Linked DNA regions of Homo sapiens: all the other regions are linked to region 1. Evidence: promoter capture Hi-C in 16 types of primary human blood cells and fetal thymus (Javierre and others, 2016). All regions are on one chromosome and are shown on one strand. The core of a region is centred on a gene start or on the middle of the fragment in contact, and the rest is flanking DNA. Distances in the headings are between cores, read along the strand shown.

Region 1 (3,422 bases), core at 187-2,686:
AGTGGTAGAGAATAGAGTGATAGTTACCAGAGGCTGGAAAGGATGGGGGAGGGGAGATGAAGAGGTTGGCTAATGGGTACAAAAATAGAGTTAGACAGAAGGAATATGCTCTAATGTTCCATAGCAGAGTTGGGTGAATACAGTTAATAATAATTTATTGTATATTTCAAAATAGCTAGAAGATTTGAAATAGTCCCAACACAAAGAAATGATAAATGTTTGGGGTAACAGATATCCTGAACACCCTGATTTGATCATTACATATTGTATGCATATATCAAAATATCACATATACCCATTCATATGTTCAATTATTATGTATCAATTATTAAAAAGTAAATTAATGATTTAAAACAGACAGGGTTACAATCCACAGTGGGGAGAAAGTTGCTCATCTCTCAGCAACTGTAAACTTGCAAAGGTGAAATGAGTTACCAGAGCAACAGAAGCTTTCATTTCTTTCCCCAATGAAAGGACAGAGACTCTGATGCAGAAACTAATACAGATAAAACAAATCTCAGGCCGGGTTTGGTGGCTCATGCCTGTAATCCCAGCACTTCGGGAGGCTGAGATGGAAGGATCGCTTGAGCCCAGGAGTTCAAGACTAGCCTGGGCAACATGGAGAGACCCCGTCTGTATAAAAGAACAACAACAAAAAACAAAAACAAAATCTTCAGGAAAGGCTATCTTAATGGGGACGGAACAGAAACAAGCAGACCAAGTTTTCTTCCCCTGCTCAAGTGAAGAGAAAGTAAAGGGGCAGAAGGATAATCCTGGTAGTTACAGGATGGGCCTGTTACCTGATCTGCCGGGCTAGTTGGTAGGGGGTTGTGTTCCATGCCACAGCATCAATTTTCTGGCCTCCAGGAAGTGATATCTTAATAGTCCGGGGTTCCTTCTGTGCCATGCTTGCTAATCTCTTTACCTGAGCAGCCCACAGCTCCTCAAAAAGGCCAAGCCGCTCTGCCAACCAGCGTGGAGGGGTCGACACAACTGCCTGGAGGGAAAGATATATTAGCAGGTAACACACGTCCCATCATTCTTTCTTAGAATTGCAGATGATGGCACTTTGGGATGGTTAAGTGGACTTCGTCCGAATTCCTACTTTTTAAGGGGATTGGGTGATACAAGACCCTAGGCTGGGGGTCCTTCGAGCTCAGAGTCCCCCAGACCGCTAACTCGAGAATTAGATAACGAGTTTAGATACGAGTCCTTTTCTGGGGACTCGGAGGACCAGGGAGAGGAGGAGTGGCGTGAGGCTGGGTTAACATAAAAATTTGGGGGCTTCGGCTGGGCTAAGTCTGATGCGGATCGGAGCTTTGGGGGTGCCTCACGCACCGTGTGTAGCCTGCAAGCCTGTAAACCTTGGAGCCGGAGACACCGCCACCTCTGATACAGGGCCATGTTCCTTCACACCAGTGCCTACATCCTCAAACAGATTATCGCCGCTTCTCCTCCACGTAATTCTTCATTGGCTTCTGGTCCAACAAAGTCCGTGTCTATTGGTTACTACAGCTGCCACTCTAGTCTGGCACCACCTCCAGGAACTCCGAAGAGGTACACCCTACACAGCACCAGCAGCGGTGTGAGTGGTTCCGGCTGACCGGAAGACCGAAAATGTAACACACCCTCGCTATTCCCCCAGACCCGTGGCGTTTCAGCTGAAACCCAAAAATAGCAATTAGGCGTCCTGTGGCTTTGAGGACAAGGGCAGGTGAACTTTTGAGGGCGAGAGTGGGAGAAAACCAGACAGGAAATGGTAGTAATTTCCCTTTAACTATACATTTTATTTTACGTGGTCCTTACAGCAAGTAGCAAAACTTAAGAGCATAGACTGGGGAACCAGACAGACCTAGTGTAAATTCTGGATCTGCCATTAACTATGTAATTTTGGGAAAATTATTAAACTTCTCATATTTATTTAATAGAGACCGGGGGGGGCGGGAGGGGGGGGCGGGTCTCACTATGTTGGCCAGGGTAGTCTCGAACTCCTGGCCTCAAGCAATCCCTCCCCTCCCCCCCACCAAACCGCCACCGCGCTCCGGCCTCCCAGAGTTCTGGAATTACAGGCATGAGCCGCCTTGCCTGACCTATTTAATTTCTCTAAGCCTCAATTTTCTCAACTATAAAATGAGAATAGTGTTGCTCCCAATTGTTGAGTTAAATTTTATGTAAATCGTCTAGTGTGGCCCATGGTTTTTTGGTAATGGGCAAAAGCAACAAGAAGCTATTATGATAAATGACTGTAACAGTTTTATTTTTTAATTTTGAGACAAGGTCTCACCGTTGCCCAGGCTGGAGTGCAGGGGTACAATCATGGCTCACTGCAGTCTCGACCTCCTGGGCTCAACTGACCACCTCAGCCTCTGGAGTAACCACTTTAAAGCTGGAGCAAAGATGGCCGCGCGCAGTGGCTCACGCTGTAATCCCAGCACTTTGGGAGGCCGAGGCAGGTGGATCACCTGAGGTCAGGAGTTCTAGACCAGCCTGGCCAACATGGTGAAACCCCGTCTCTACTAAAAATACAAAAATTAGCTGGGCGTGGTGGTGGGCGCCTGTAATCCCAGCTACTTGGGAGGCCGAGGCGGGTGGATCACCTGAGGTCAGGAGTTCTAGACCAGCCTGGCCAACATGGTGAAACCCCGTCTCTACTAAAAATACAAAAATTAGCTGGGCATGGTGGTGGGCGCCTGTAATCCCAGCTACTTGGGAGGCTGAGACAGGAGAATCGCTTGAACCCGGGAGGTGGAGGTTGCAGTGAGCCGAGATCACGCCATGCACTCCAGCCTGGGGGACAAGAGCGAGACTTCATCTCAAAACAAAACAAAAACAAAAAAGCTGGAATCAAGAATCTGCAGAGGTCAGTTTGAGTCCCTTTATACTCATGGTGCTTAATAGGGACTTTATAGACCTTTTAATCTTTTTTTTTTTTTTTTGAGATGGAGTTTCACTCTTGTTGCCCAGGCTGGAGTGCAGTGGCGTGATCTCGGCTTACCGCAACCTCCGCCTCCCCAGGTTCAAGCGCTTCTCCTGCCTCAGCCTCCCGAGTAGCTGGGATTACAGGCATGTGCCACCCCAGGCCCAGCTAATTTTGTATTTTTAGTAGAGACAGGGTTTCTCCATGTTGGTCAGGCTGGTCCCGAACTCCCAGCATCAGGTGATCCGCCTGCCTCAGCCTCCCAAAGTGCTGGGATTACAGGCGTGAGCCACCATGCCCGGCCGAGACCTTTTAATCTGACAGATGAGGAATTTAAGGTCAAACAGCAAGTGCTGATGGTGATTTCTGAATCCAAGCTTGGTTTTCTTTTACCACACCATGCTTTCTCTAGAAGAGTTTGCTCCCAGTATACTCCCCCATCACCTCAGAAAGAGGTGCCTGACTAGAATTTTAGCTCTCTGCTCCCTACATAAGCCCTTTGCCT
Region 2 (3,422 bases), core at 1-2,500, 440 kb before region 1:
CAGTAGAGGAATTAAGAGATATAGAATCCATTACGATGTATATATATTTAAGTATAGACAGTCCTCAATTTAAATGGGCCACATTCCAAAGTGTCTCTGTTTAGAATTTAGAATGCTTTTTCTATAGAAAAATGTTTTAAATAGTGGTTTAGTTTCCAGACTAGTTCCTCAAAAATCCAAAGTAAGCCCAAAGTACAGTACTTTCACCCTTACCTCATTATTTACCTTGCTGTTATCTGAAAATGTATCCTGGCTGGCAGTGGTGGCTCACACCTGCAATCCCAGCAATTTGGGAGGCTGAGGCAGGTAGATCACTTGAGGTCAGGAATTTGACCTCCCCAGCCTGGCCGACATGGTAAAACTCCATCTCTACTAAAAATACAAAAATTAGCCGGGTGTGGTGGCACACGCTTGTCGTCCCAGCTACTCCGGAGGCTGAGACAGGAGAGCTGCTTGAACTCGGGAGGCGGAGGCTGCAGTGAGCCGAGATCACGTCACTGTACTCCAGCCTGGGTGAGACAGAGCAAGTCTCTGTCTAAAAAAAAAATAAAATAAAATAAAAATAAAATAAAAAAATGCTCATTATCAGTGGCCATCAGAGAAATGCAAATCAAAACCACCATGAGATACCGTCTCACACCAGTTAGAATGGCGATCATTAAAAAGTCAGGAAACAACAGGTGCTGGAGAGGATGTAGAGAAACAGGAACACTTTTACACTGTTGGTGGGACTGTAAACTTGTTCAACCATTGTGGAAGACAGTGTGGCGATTCCTCAAGGATCTAGAACTAGAAATACCATTTGACCCAGCAATCCCATTACTGGGTATATACCCAAAGGATTATAAATCATGCTGCTATAAAGACACATGCACACGTATGTTTATTGCGGCACTATCCACAATAGCAAAGACTTTAAACCAACCCAAATGTCCATCAATGATAGACTGGATTAAGAAATGTGGCACATATACACCATGGAATACTATGCAGCCATAAAAAAGGATGAGTTCATGTCCTTTGTAGGCACATGGATGAAGCTGGAAACCATCATTCTGAGCAAACTATAGCAAGGACAGAAAACCAAACACCGCACGTTCTCATTCATAGGTGGGAATTGAACAATGAGAACACCTGGACACAGGATGGGGAACGTCACATACTGGGGCCTGTCGTGGGGTGGGGGGAAGGGGGAGGGATAGTATTAGGAGATATACCTAATGTAAGTGACACCAACATGGCACATGTATACATATGTAATAAACCTGCACGTTGTGCACATATACCCTAGAACTTAAAGTATAATAAATTTAAAAACAATGTATTCTAAGTGACAACTAGAGCACCAGAAACAAATCTTTTGGGGGTATGGGAACTTACTAATGCTTCAGAGTTACGTAAGACAGAAATTCTTTACAATCCTCACTCCCTGGATGATCTTACTAGGGAAATGAAGCAATTGTTCTAAGATAGAGCACAGGAGGAAGAAGGGGAAAGGACTTAAGACTTGGACTCCCTTACTGCTGATCATGTATTAGCTGCTGACAGATGAAAATTATATTTACGGCTGATTGTAAGGTCAGATTTTTGACCATAAACTTTGAGGAAGAGTAAGGTTCTAAACATCTGTACTTCATAAAGTATAAAATGTTTGGTACACAGCCTGGCCAACATGGTGAAACCCTGTCTCTACTAAAAATATAAAAAATTAGCTGGGTGTGGTGGCGGATGCCTATAATTCCAGCTACTCGGGAGGGGGAGGTGGGAGAATCACTTGAACCCGAGAGGTGGAGGTTGCAGTGAGCCAGGATCACTCCACTGCACTCTAGCTTGGGTGACAGAGCGAGACTCCGTCTCAAAACATAAAATAAAATGCTTGGTTCAATGTCATGAACAATTATTCTCTAAAAACATCTCCCAATGGAGAGATTTCCTTCTATTTTCCATGGAGTTCTCACCTGGATGCATCATCAAAGAGTTGGTCAACGTGAGCCACCTCAGATTCTTTCTGTATTACCCATGTCTCTAACTCTGCTAGCTGCTTCTTGCGTTGCTGTACACAATCCATCTTCTCCAGTTCCTCATCGATGAAATGCCGAAGTTCCTCCATAGAGATACCCAGTTCCTCAACCACTGCCTGTTGCAGCTCTGCAATCTCTTCAGACTCCACTGTAGCTGTTGCTGCATCCAAACCAATGCACCCAGGAAGGGAAGACATGCTTTTGTCCTCTGCATGGAACAGAAAACAAATTAAATTGGAGTCCTTATAACTACAATCAATCAATAGAGAATTTCAGTTCCCTAATAAAACTAATTCCTACTCTGCTGCCTGTTATTCTATTCAAATATTCCATGTTCTCCCTCCCTATTCTCCAGAATCTGATGCTGAGATTTTTAAGAGTTCTTATCTTCTGCTGTACGCTAACACTCCTGAAAAAGATTTAAGAGTTTGAGACGGCATGGAGAACATTCATTAAGCAGTAGAGAGCTACTGAAAATAATGTTTTGGGCTGGCACAGTGGCTTACACCTGTAATCTCAGCACTTTTAGAGGCCGAGGCAGGAGGGTCGCTTGAGGGCAGGAGTTCAAGACCAGCCTGGGCAACATGGCAAGACTCGTCTTTACAAAAAAATACAAAAATTAGCCACGTGTGGTGGTGCACGCCTTTAGTTCCAGCTACTCAGGAGGCTGAAGTGGGAGGATCGCTTGAGCCCAGGAGTAGCTGCTGTAGTGAGCTATGTTCGCGCCATGCATTCCAGCTTGGGTGACAAAGTGAGACCCTGTCTCAAAACAAACCGAACTTTAAAAATAATCTTTTGGGATACTGAAGAGAACCAATCTATAAGATATTTTTGTGGTCTATATGTGTTCCTTAACTAATGTGATAAATCTTTGTATGCTATGCCTAATTTAAACAAAACCCCACCTGGGGATGGAGTTGATTTGGAACTCACTAACTCAGTGTTTTCTCTTTCATTACTTGTTCCCCTTATATTACTTTGCTTCCATGTGGAATTTTACTTTTTAAAAAGTCTATGATATTCAAACACACGAAAGCTTGCAGCAAAAAGGTTTCCCCCAAAGTACAGAGAAGTAAAGCAACCTGGGAATAAAACGTGGGTACCTAATATCCACAATCCAAATACTTCACACATTCGTGTGAACTGCTTTTTTAATCAAACGGTTAAAGAAAATCTGATTTTCAGCGCCTCCATTTTCCTCTGCCCACACACCAGCCCACCCCCGTGCTACCCATTCTAGGGGTGCGTCCTACCCATTCGCAAACCCAGTTCAGCCCCGCCCCCGTTCGCCTCTGGGGAAGACTTCCTTCCCACCCTCGCCCGACCCCCTCCCACAAACAAAACGTCCCAGATAAGCCTTTGGTCACCAAATAACTCAACAGTATTCCCCGCACCTCCCGT
Region 3 (3,422 bases), core at 291-2,790, 390 kb before region 1:
TGGTGGTGCGCGCCTGTAATCCCAGCTACTCAGGAGGCTGAGGCAGGATAACTGCTTGAACCCGGGAGGGAGAGGTTGCAGTGAGCCAAGATCGCACCACTGCACTCCAGCCTGGGTGATGGAGCAAGACTCCGTCTCAGAAAAAAATAAAGAAAAAAGAAAATAAATCTGCACAGCCATCATCTTATTGATTCCCTATTAAAAACTCCTCACTGGCCAGGTGTGGTGGCTCACGCCTGTAATCCCAACAGTTTGTGAGACCGAGGCGGGCAGATTGCCTGATGTCAGGAGTTCGAGACCAGCCTGGCCAACGTCGTGAAACTCCATCTCTACTAAAAATACAAAAAACATTAGCCAGGCGTGTGGCGTGCGCCTGTAATCCCAGCTACTCAGGAGACTGAGGCAGGGGAATTGCTTGAACCGGGGAGGTGGAGGTTGCAGTGAGCCGAGATTGCGCCACTGCACTCCAGCCTGGGCGACAGAGAGAGACTCTGTCTCAAAAACAGACAAACAAAACTCCTCACTCTGTCCCTGTCACTGACCAAAGAAGTTACCCATTCTCAAATTACTTTCTTCATCTATTGCCTCCAATTTTGGCTGGCAATATCTCCCATACCAAACCGTTAACACCTGGATCCTTTTAGACTACCGGTTCCATAGCAGGCATTCAAAAGTTAGTCATTTAACTTTTTCACCAGGGACAAAAGTCCTTAAAAGAGGAAAAAAACTGGAAAGGATTACAAATCACCATGTGATGTTTAGGTGCTCTTTAGCACCTAAAGAGGATTTACAAGATACATTGTCTGCACGGCAACCACTCAGACGAATCCACCACCAAGCGAAGGTTTTTAGTAAAATATCCTTTTTTTTTTTTTTGAGACGGAGTTTCGCTCTTGTTGCCCAGACTGGCGTGCAGTGGCGCTATCTCGGCTCACTGCAACCTCTGCCTCCCAGGTTCAAGCGATTCTCCTGCCTCAGCCTCCCAAGAAGCTGGGATTACAGGCATGCGCCACCACGCCCGGCTAATTTTGTATTTTTAGTAGAGACGGGGTTTCGCCATGTTGGCCAGGCTGGTTTCGAACCCCTGGCCACAGGTGATCCGGCCGCCTCGGCCTCCCAAAGTGCTGGGATTACAGACGCGAGCCACCGCGCCCAGCCTAAAATACCCATTTTAATTGCATTTCAATGACGTTACTCGGTCATTGACCTCTTACGCAAGGAGGGCGAGATTAGGGAGACAGCTGGACTTCTTCCTCGCCCTCCCTTCACTGGACTGGCTGGCGCAGTGAGTAGCCCTGCCCTTGGACGATTTGGCATTTTCATTGGTCAATTTTTCTTAGGAGGCTGGCCGTGTGTTGACTCCGCCTACTATATAGGCGGGGTCTCCCCGCCGCAGGGGCTGGGATGCTGGGGGCTGCTGAAGCCGCCATCTTGGATTCCGCGGTAGCGGAGGCGGCGGTCAGGCGCCGCTTCTGGGGAGTGGCCTTTCTTTTCCCCTCCCTCCCGGTTCGGTGGCGGCGGCTCCTCCCACTGGGGGGGGGGGTGGCGCGGCGGCGGTGGCATCTGCGGCCATGGCGGCGACTACTGCCAACCCCGGTGAGGAGACGGAGGACTGGGGCGCCTCTAAAGGGGAGGGGCCGAAGGGGCTGACAACTAAGGAGACCCAGGGCTGAGGGGACGCAGCTGGAGCTGAAGGCGCCGGGGCGGGGCGGGGGCCGCGAGAGACGGTGGGGGAGCGGTGACCTGGGGAGGGGCCCGATCCCGGGGACTTGGGTAGACTCGAGTATACCCAAGGGAGCGAGGGGGCAGGTGGGAGTTGAGGGGGGCTCCCTGTCCTGACCTCCGTTGGAGCGGCAGCCAGTGCGGGGCTGGCCCGCCCTCACTCCTCGGTCGGCGTCTGGTCTGTGATGTGGTCCTCTTTTAACCCTCTGCCCGCTGGAGCCGCTTGATGCCGAAAACTGTAGGCAGAGTGTCTCGGTTTACTTTAAGAGTAGTTTGGATTCATAAACCCTGGACCACACTGCTCTTTAGTTGAGGCGTTGCTTCCAAACATTTAAAGGTTTAGATTTTAATTTAAAAAATAAAAAATGGACATTCTTTGATATATACGACGTTTCTTTAGGCTGTTACCTCCCACCCGCAACCCCCGTCCCCGTCTCCGTCCCCGGACTATACTTTGAAACTTAGATCTTGTGTTAAGAGGGCCTGTAGGTCTTTGCCTGCTGAGGGCAGGGGTTTGTGTAATGGTTATGGTTCCGGACAGGTCTTTAGTTCCACAGCCCCAGGTTTAAATCTTGTTAGGCCTACGTCGAGGCAATTTCCAAACTCTTTCAGAAAAGTTTGATTCCACACCATTTCTCAATTTCAAAAAATAATCAAATATCAAAAAGGTTTGGTCTGTTTTGTCTAAGAGATGGAGTAGGGTGTAGTGCAGTTCTAGAGAGATCAGATCTTCAAATTACTAGTCCCAGCCCTCTTTCCTCTATGTTACAGTTATTCCTCTTTAGAAGGCATTTCATTTTAGGGGTCTAGTTTATCTTGGAGACCTTGGTTATTCTTGCCAAATAAAGTCTATCCTTTTCCAAAAACCAATATATTTGATAGCCTTAAAAAGGGCCTTGAGATATGTGTGTGTGTTGCGTGGGGCGGAGAATTTCTTGAAAATAAAACAGTAGGAGTGATTACCCCCATCCCCACGTTGAAATTTAAATTAGATTTTTTTTCATGTTACTGAAAGGCAGTATGATTTTGCAATATCCAGATTTTGATAGGACAGTTGAATCACTGAAATTTCTTTTCTACCGTGTTTCTGGGAATAGCTATTTTAAGAAATGGTTAATTTGTCACGTCATTTTTTTTTAATCTTTTAAATTTTTTTTGAAGGAAAGGGAGGTAAAATTAATCGCAAAAATTACATTGCAGGAAGTGCTGAGTGATAGAATAAAACTATAAAACAGGAAAAATGCCGTTATGTCAAACCTGACCTTGTAGTAATATAACCTATCTGTGAACTATGGAATAAATAAACAAGATTTTTAACTGATCACACATTGCAAAATACTTATATAACCCTAGTTAAATTGCAAAGCATTTCTCTTATTAAGAAGTGGCCTGGGTAAACAAGTTTTAGTTCATATGTCAGAAGCTTTTTTCCAGCTGTGTGGGTGGGGTTGCTTTATTTTGTTTTGTTTTTTGAACAACAGCAACCAGAATGACAGCCTCTTGACCATATTTTCATAAGCTGATCAATATCAGCTTAAATCTTAGCAGAAAATAGCATATGTTAGTGTGTATGTGTGTGTGCAGAATCCTTGTTAATGAAACAGCTTTGTTTACTATGCTTTGGCTGCTTGCTTCTGCAATTTTTAGATTTCCTTTTTCTTTTTCTTTGTTTTCCTTTCTCCTCTCCCCTCTCTCCTGTC
Region 4 (3,422 bases), core at 648-3,147, 290 kb before region 1:
CTGAGAAGATTGTCAATAAGCATATATGCGAAACACTCCTATTTCATTCACAATTCTAATACTACTGCACTGCGAAGGAATTTTGCAAAAGTTGATCTGCTGGGTACAAATAAATCTAGAGACCAAACTCTTTGTAACTGTTCTCTTCTAGATGTGGCTTACATAAAGTTAGTCAAACTTAATCCACTTCCGTATATATTTCCCAAAAGATCTACTCTGTGCCAGGGATAACAAAATCTGGAGTGAAAATATTCACAGTTCGTCACTACTGTTTACCAAGTACTTTTTCACCCTATTTCTATTTTTCCTCTAAATTTTGTATTTTAAACATACACTTGACCAACTTATCTTTCCAGATAAGATGAAGTGAGTTACTTTGTGCAAAAACAAATTTTTAACAACAAATCTTCCTAAGTTGACAATTCAGCCTCAAAGAAAAATCTTTATTTTTATAGCTTCCCTCTGTTTTAAATGGATTAAAGAGAAACCAGCATTCTTGTCTTAATACTAAATATAAAAAATGACAAGCCCTAGCTGTTTCTCAGATACAGATACTTTCTGTATCTTATTTTGGTTAAGTTTCAACAATTAAAGTGCAGGTTACTCTCTGAGATGATTAACTATTAAAATGACTTTTACAAATGTGAAACCAATTCTTTCCTTCGAGGAAGGTAAAGAGGAAGAGGCAAGTGGAGAAGAGGCATAAGATGACGGACAGGGTACATGAGGCTACGCATTCAGTGTATGATTCCGGTCACTTTTTCACAACGTGTGGTTATTTTTCTTGTATATCTTAGTAAGCCTCTAATAAAAGACAGTGCTAAATCTACAAATCAAGGAAAATTTGATAAAACATTCATCTTTAAGTTTCATAAATATATGCAATTCTTTTTTTTTAAATGCAGTCTCGCTCTGTCACCAAGGCTGGAGTGCAACGGAGCAACCTCAGCTCACTGCAGCCTCCACCTCCCAGGTTCAAGCAATTCCCCTGCCTCGGCCTGCCGAATAGCTGGGATTACAGGCATAAGCCACCACGCCTGGCTAATTATTTTGTATTTTTAGTAGGAATGGGGTTTCACCATGTTGCCAGGCTGGTCTCGAACTCCTGACCTCAGGCAATCCACATGCCTCCGCCTCCCAAAGTTCTGGGATTACAGGCATGTGCCACTGCACCTGGCCAATATGTGCAACTGTAATGATAAAGTTTCTACAATTCATTTGCATGTTTTCCTTTTTTTTTTTTTTAATTTATTTTTTTATTGATAATTCTTGGGTGTTTCTCACAGAGGGGGATTTGGCAGGGTCATGGGACAATAGTGGAGGGAAGGTCAGCAGATAAACAAGTGAACAAAGGTCTCTGGTTTTCCTAGGCAGAGGACCCTGCGGCCTTCCGCAGTGTTTGTGTCCCTGGGTACTTGAGATTAGGGAGTGGTGATGACTCTTAACGAGCATGCTGCCTTCAAGCATCTGTTTAACAAAGCACATCTTGCACCGCCCTTAATCCATTTAACCCTGAGTGGACACAGCACATGTTTCAGAGAGCACAGGGTTGGGGGTAAGGTCACAGATCAACAGGATCCCAAGGCAGAAGAATTTTTCTTAGTACAGAACAAAATGAAAAGTCTCCCATGTCTACTTCTTTCTACACAGACACGGCAACCATCCGATTTCTCAATCTTTTCCCCACCTTTCCCACCTTTCTATTCCACAAAGCCGCCATTGTCATCCTGGCCTGTTCTCAATGAGCGGTTGGGCACACCTCCCAGACAGGGTGGTGGCCGGGCAGAGGGGCTCCTCACTTCCCAGTAGGGGCGGCCGGGCAGAGGCGCCCCTCACCTCCCGGACGGGGCGGCTGGCCGGGCGGGGGGCTGACCCCCCCACCTCCCTCCCGGACGGGGCGGCTGGCCGGGCAGGGGGCTGACCTCCCACCTCCCTCCCGGACGGGGTGGCTGCCGGGCGGAGACGCTCCTCACTTCCCAGATGGGGTGGCTGCCGGGCGGAGAGGCTCCTCACTTCTCAGACGGGGCGGCTGCCGGGCGGAGGGGCTCCTCACTTCTCAGACGTGGCGGCCGGGCAGAGACGCTCCTCACCTCCCAGAGGGGGTCTCGGCCGGGCAGAGGCGCTCCTCACATCCCAGATGGGGCGGCGGGGCAGAGGCGCTCCCCACATCTCAGACGATGGGCGGCCGGGCAGAGACGCTCCTCACTTCCTAGATGTGATGGCGGCCGGGAAGAGGCGCTCCTCACTTCCTAGATGGGATGGCGGCCGGGAAGAGGCGCTCCTCACTTCCTAGATGGGATGGCGGCCGGGAAGAGGCGCTCCTCACTTCCTAGATGGGATGGCGGCCGGGAAGAGGCGCTCCTCACTTCCTAGATGGGATGGCGGCCGGGCGGAGACGCTCCTCACTTTCCAGACTGGGCAGCCAGGCAGAGGGGCTCCTCACATCCCAGACGATGGGCGGCCAGGCAGAGACACTCCTCACTTCCCAGACAGGGTGGCGGCCGGGCAGAGGCTGCAATCTCGGCACTTTGGGAGGCCAAGGCAGGCGGCTGGGAGGTGGAGGTTGTAGCGAGCCGAGATCACACCACTGCACTTCAGCCTGGGCACCATTGAGCACTGAGTGAACGAGACTCCGTCTGCAATCCCGGCACCTCGGGAGGCCGAGGCTGGCGGATCACTTGCGGTTAGGGGCTGGAGACTGGCCCGGCCAACACAGCGAAACCCCGTCTCCACCAAAACCAGTCAGGCGTGGCGGCGCGTGCCTGCAATCGCAGGCACTCGGCAGGCTGAGGCAGGAGAATCAGGCAGGGAGGTTGCAGTGAGCCGAGATGGCAGCAGTACAGTCCAGCTTCGGCTCCGCATGAGAGGGAGACCGTGGAAAGAGAGGGAGACCGTGGGGAGAGGGAGGGGGAGGGGGAGGGAGAGGGAGAGACTGCATGTTTTCATAGACTAATATAATATACAAACTTAGGGAAGTCTCCTGTTAATGCTGTTAATTTTGCCTCACCTGACATTTTCTTCATAAATATTCAATGAAGCCACAAAGATGCTGTAACTTTTTGGAATCTGTCCAAGTTTAAAAGAAAAAATTATCAGCAGCAATTCTGTAAAACAGAAGTGTGTCAATTCCTTACTTTCTTTTGCTTTCGGTGTCAGTTGTTTGAAAAACACCAGAAGCTGACATGAGATTTTCTATATGTTGTCCAACAACTTGGTTTTCTGATTTTAGCTTCAGATTTTCTTCCTTACCTGTGTTTGCTCTTGCAGAGAGATCTTCAAGTATGAGTTGGAATTTCCACACTTGATTAATAAGTCGTGTTGTTTTCCTCTAGTTCCACCTGATTTTCAGCATCAACTGCATCCATGTCAGCACTCATCATCTTGGGTAACAAACTTTTGAGCCTTGGACACAAAATGCATGA

What was found. Contacts are between HindIII fragments. The CHiCAGO score rates a contact against its expected background, and 5 or more counts as called.
Region 2: a contact is called between a fragment that was not itself captured here and the fragment with the promoter of TARS2 in region 1, in 1 of 17 cell types (non-activated CD4 T cells). The highest score is 5.4, in non-activated CD4 T cells.
Region 3: a contact is called between the fragment with the promoter of ARNT here and the fragment with the promoter of TARS2 in region 1, in 8 of 17 cell types (fetal thymus, naive CD8 T cells, neutrophils and 5 more). The highest score is 8.4, in fetal thymus.
Region 4: a contact is called between a fragment that was not itself captured here and the fragment with the promoter of TARS2 in region 1, in 1 of 17 cell types (neutrophils). The highest score is 5.3, in neutrophils.

Annotation. Positions count from the first base shown.
Region 1 is chr1:150,485,433-150,488,854 of GRCh38, reverse strand. It overlaps TARS2 (threonyl-tRNA synthetase 2, mitochondrial), which reads right to left and starts at 1,436. Exons shown (of 18, transcript NM_025150.5): 1 at 1,339-1,436; 2 at 801-997. The coding sequence starts at 1,404. RefSeq lists enhancers at 1,342-1,611, 1,105-1,611. The HindIII fragment of the contact is 2,845 bases long and covers 452-3,296 here.
Region 2 is chr1:150,926,511-150,929,932 of GRCh38, reverse strand. It overlaps SETDB1 (SET domain bifurcated histone lysine methyltransferase 1), which reads right to left. Exons shown (of 22, transcript NM_001366418.1): 1 at 3,416-3,422; 2 at 1,959-2,229. The coding sequence starts at 2,218. Among named protein-coding and RNA genes, the nearest start is that of SETDB1, 1.9 kb to the right of the region's middle. The HindIII fragment of the contact is 3,618 bases long and covers 1-3,059 here.
Region 3 is chr1:150,874,717-150,878,138 of GRCh38, reverse strand. ARNT (aryl hydrocarbon receptor nuclear translocator) reads left to right here and starts at 1,540. Exons shown (of 22, transcript NM_001668.4): 1 at 1,540-1,596. The coding sequence starts at 1,572. RefSeq lists silencers at 1,208-1,481, 1,485-1,914 and an enhancer at 2,975-3,422. The HindIII fragment of the contact is 12,157 bases long and covers 1-3,147 here.
Region 4 is chr1:150,780,359-150,783,780 of GRCh38, reverse strand. It overlaps the pseudogene LOC100132571. Among named protein-coding and RNA genes, the nearest start is that of CTSS, 16 kb to the right of the region's middle. RefSeq lists enhancers at 1,193-2,049, 2,050-2,907. The HindIII fragment of the contact is 8,697 bases long and covers 1-3,422 here.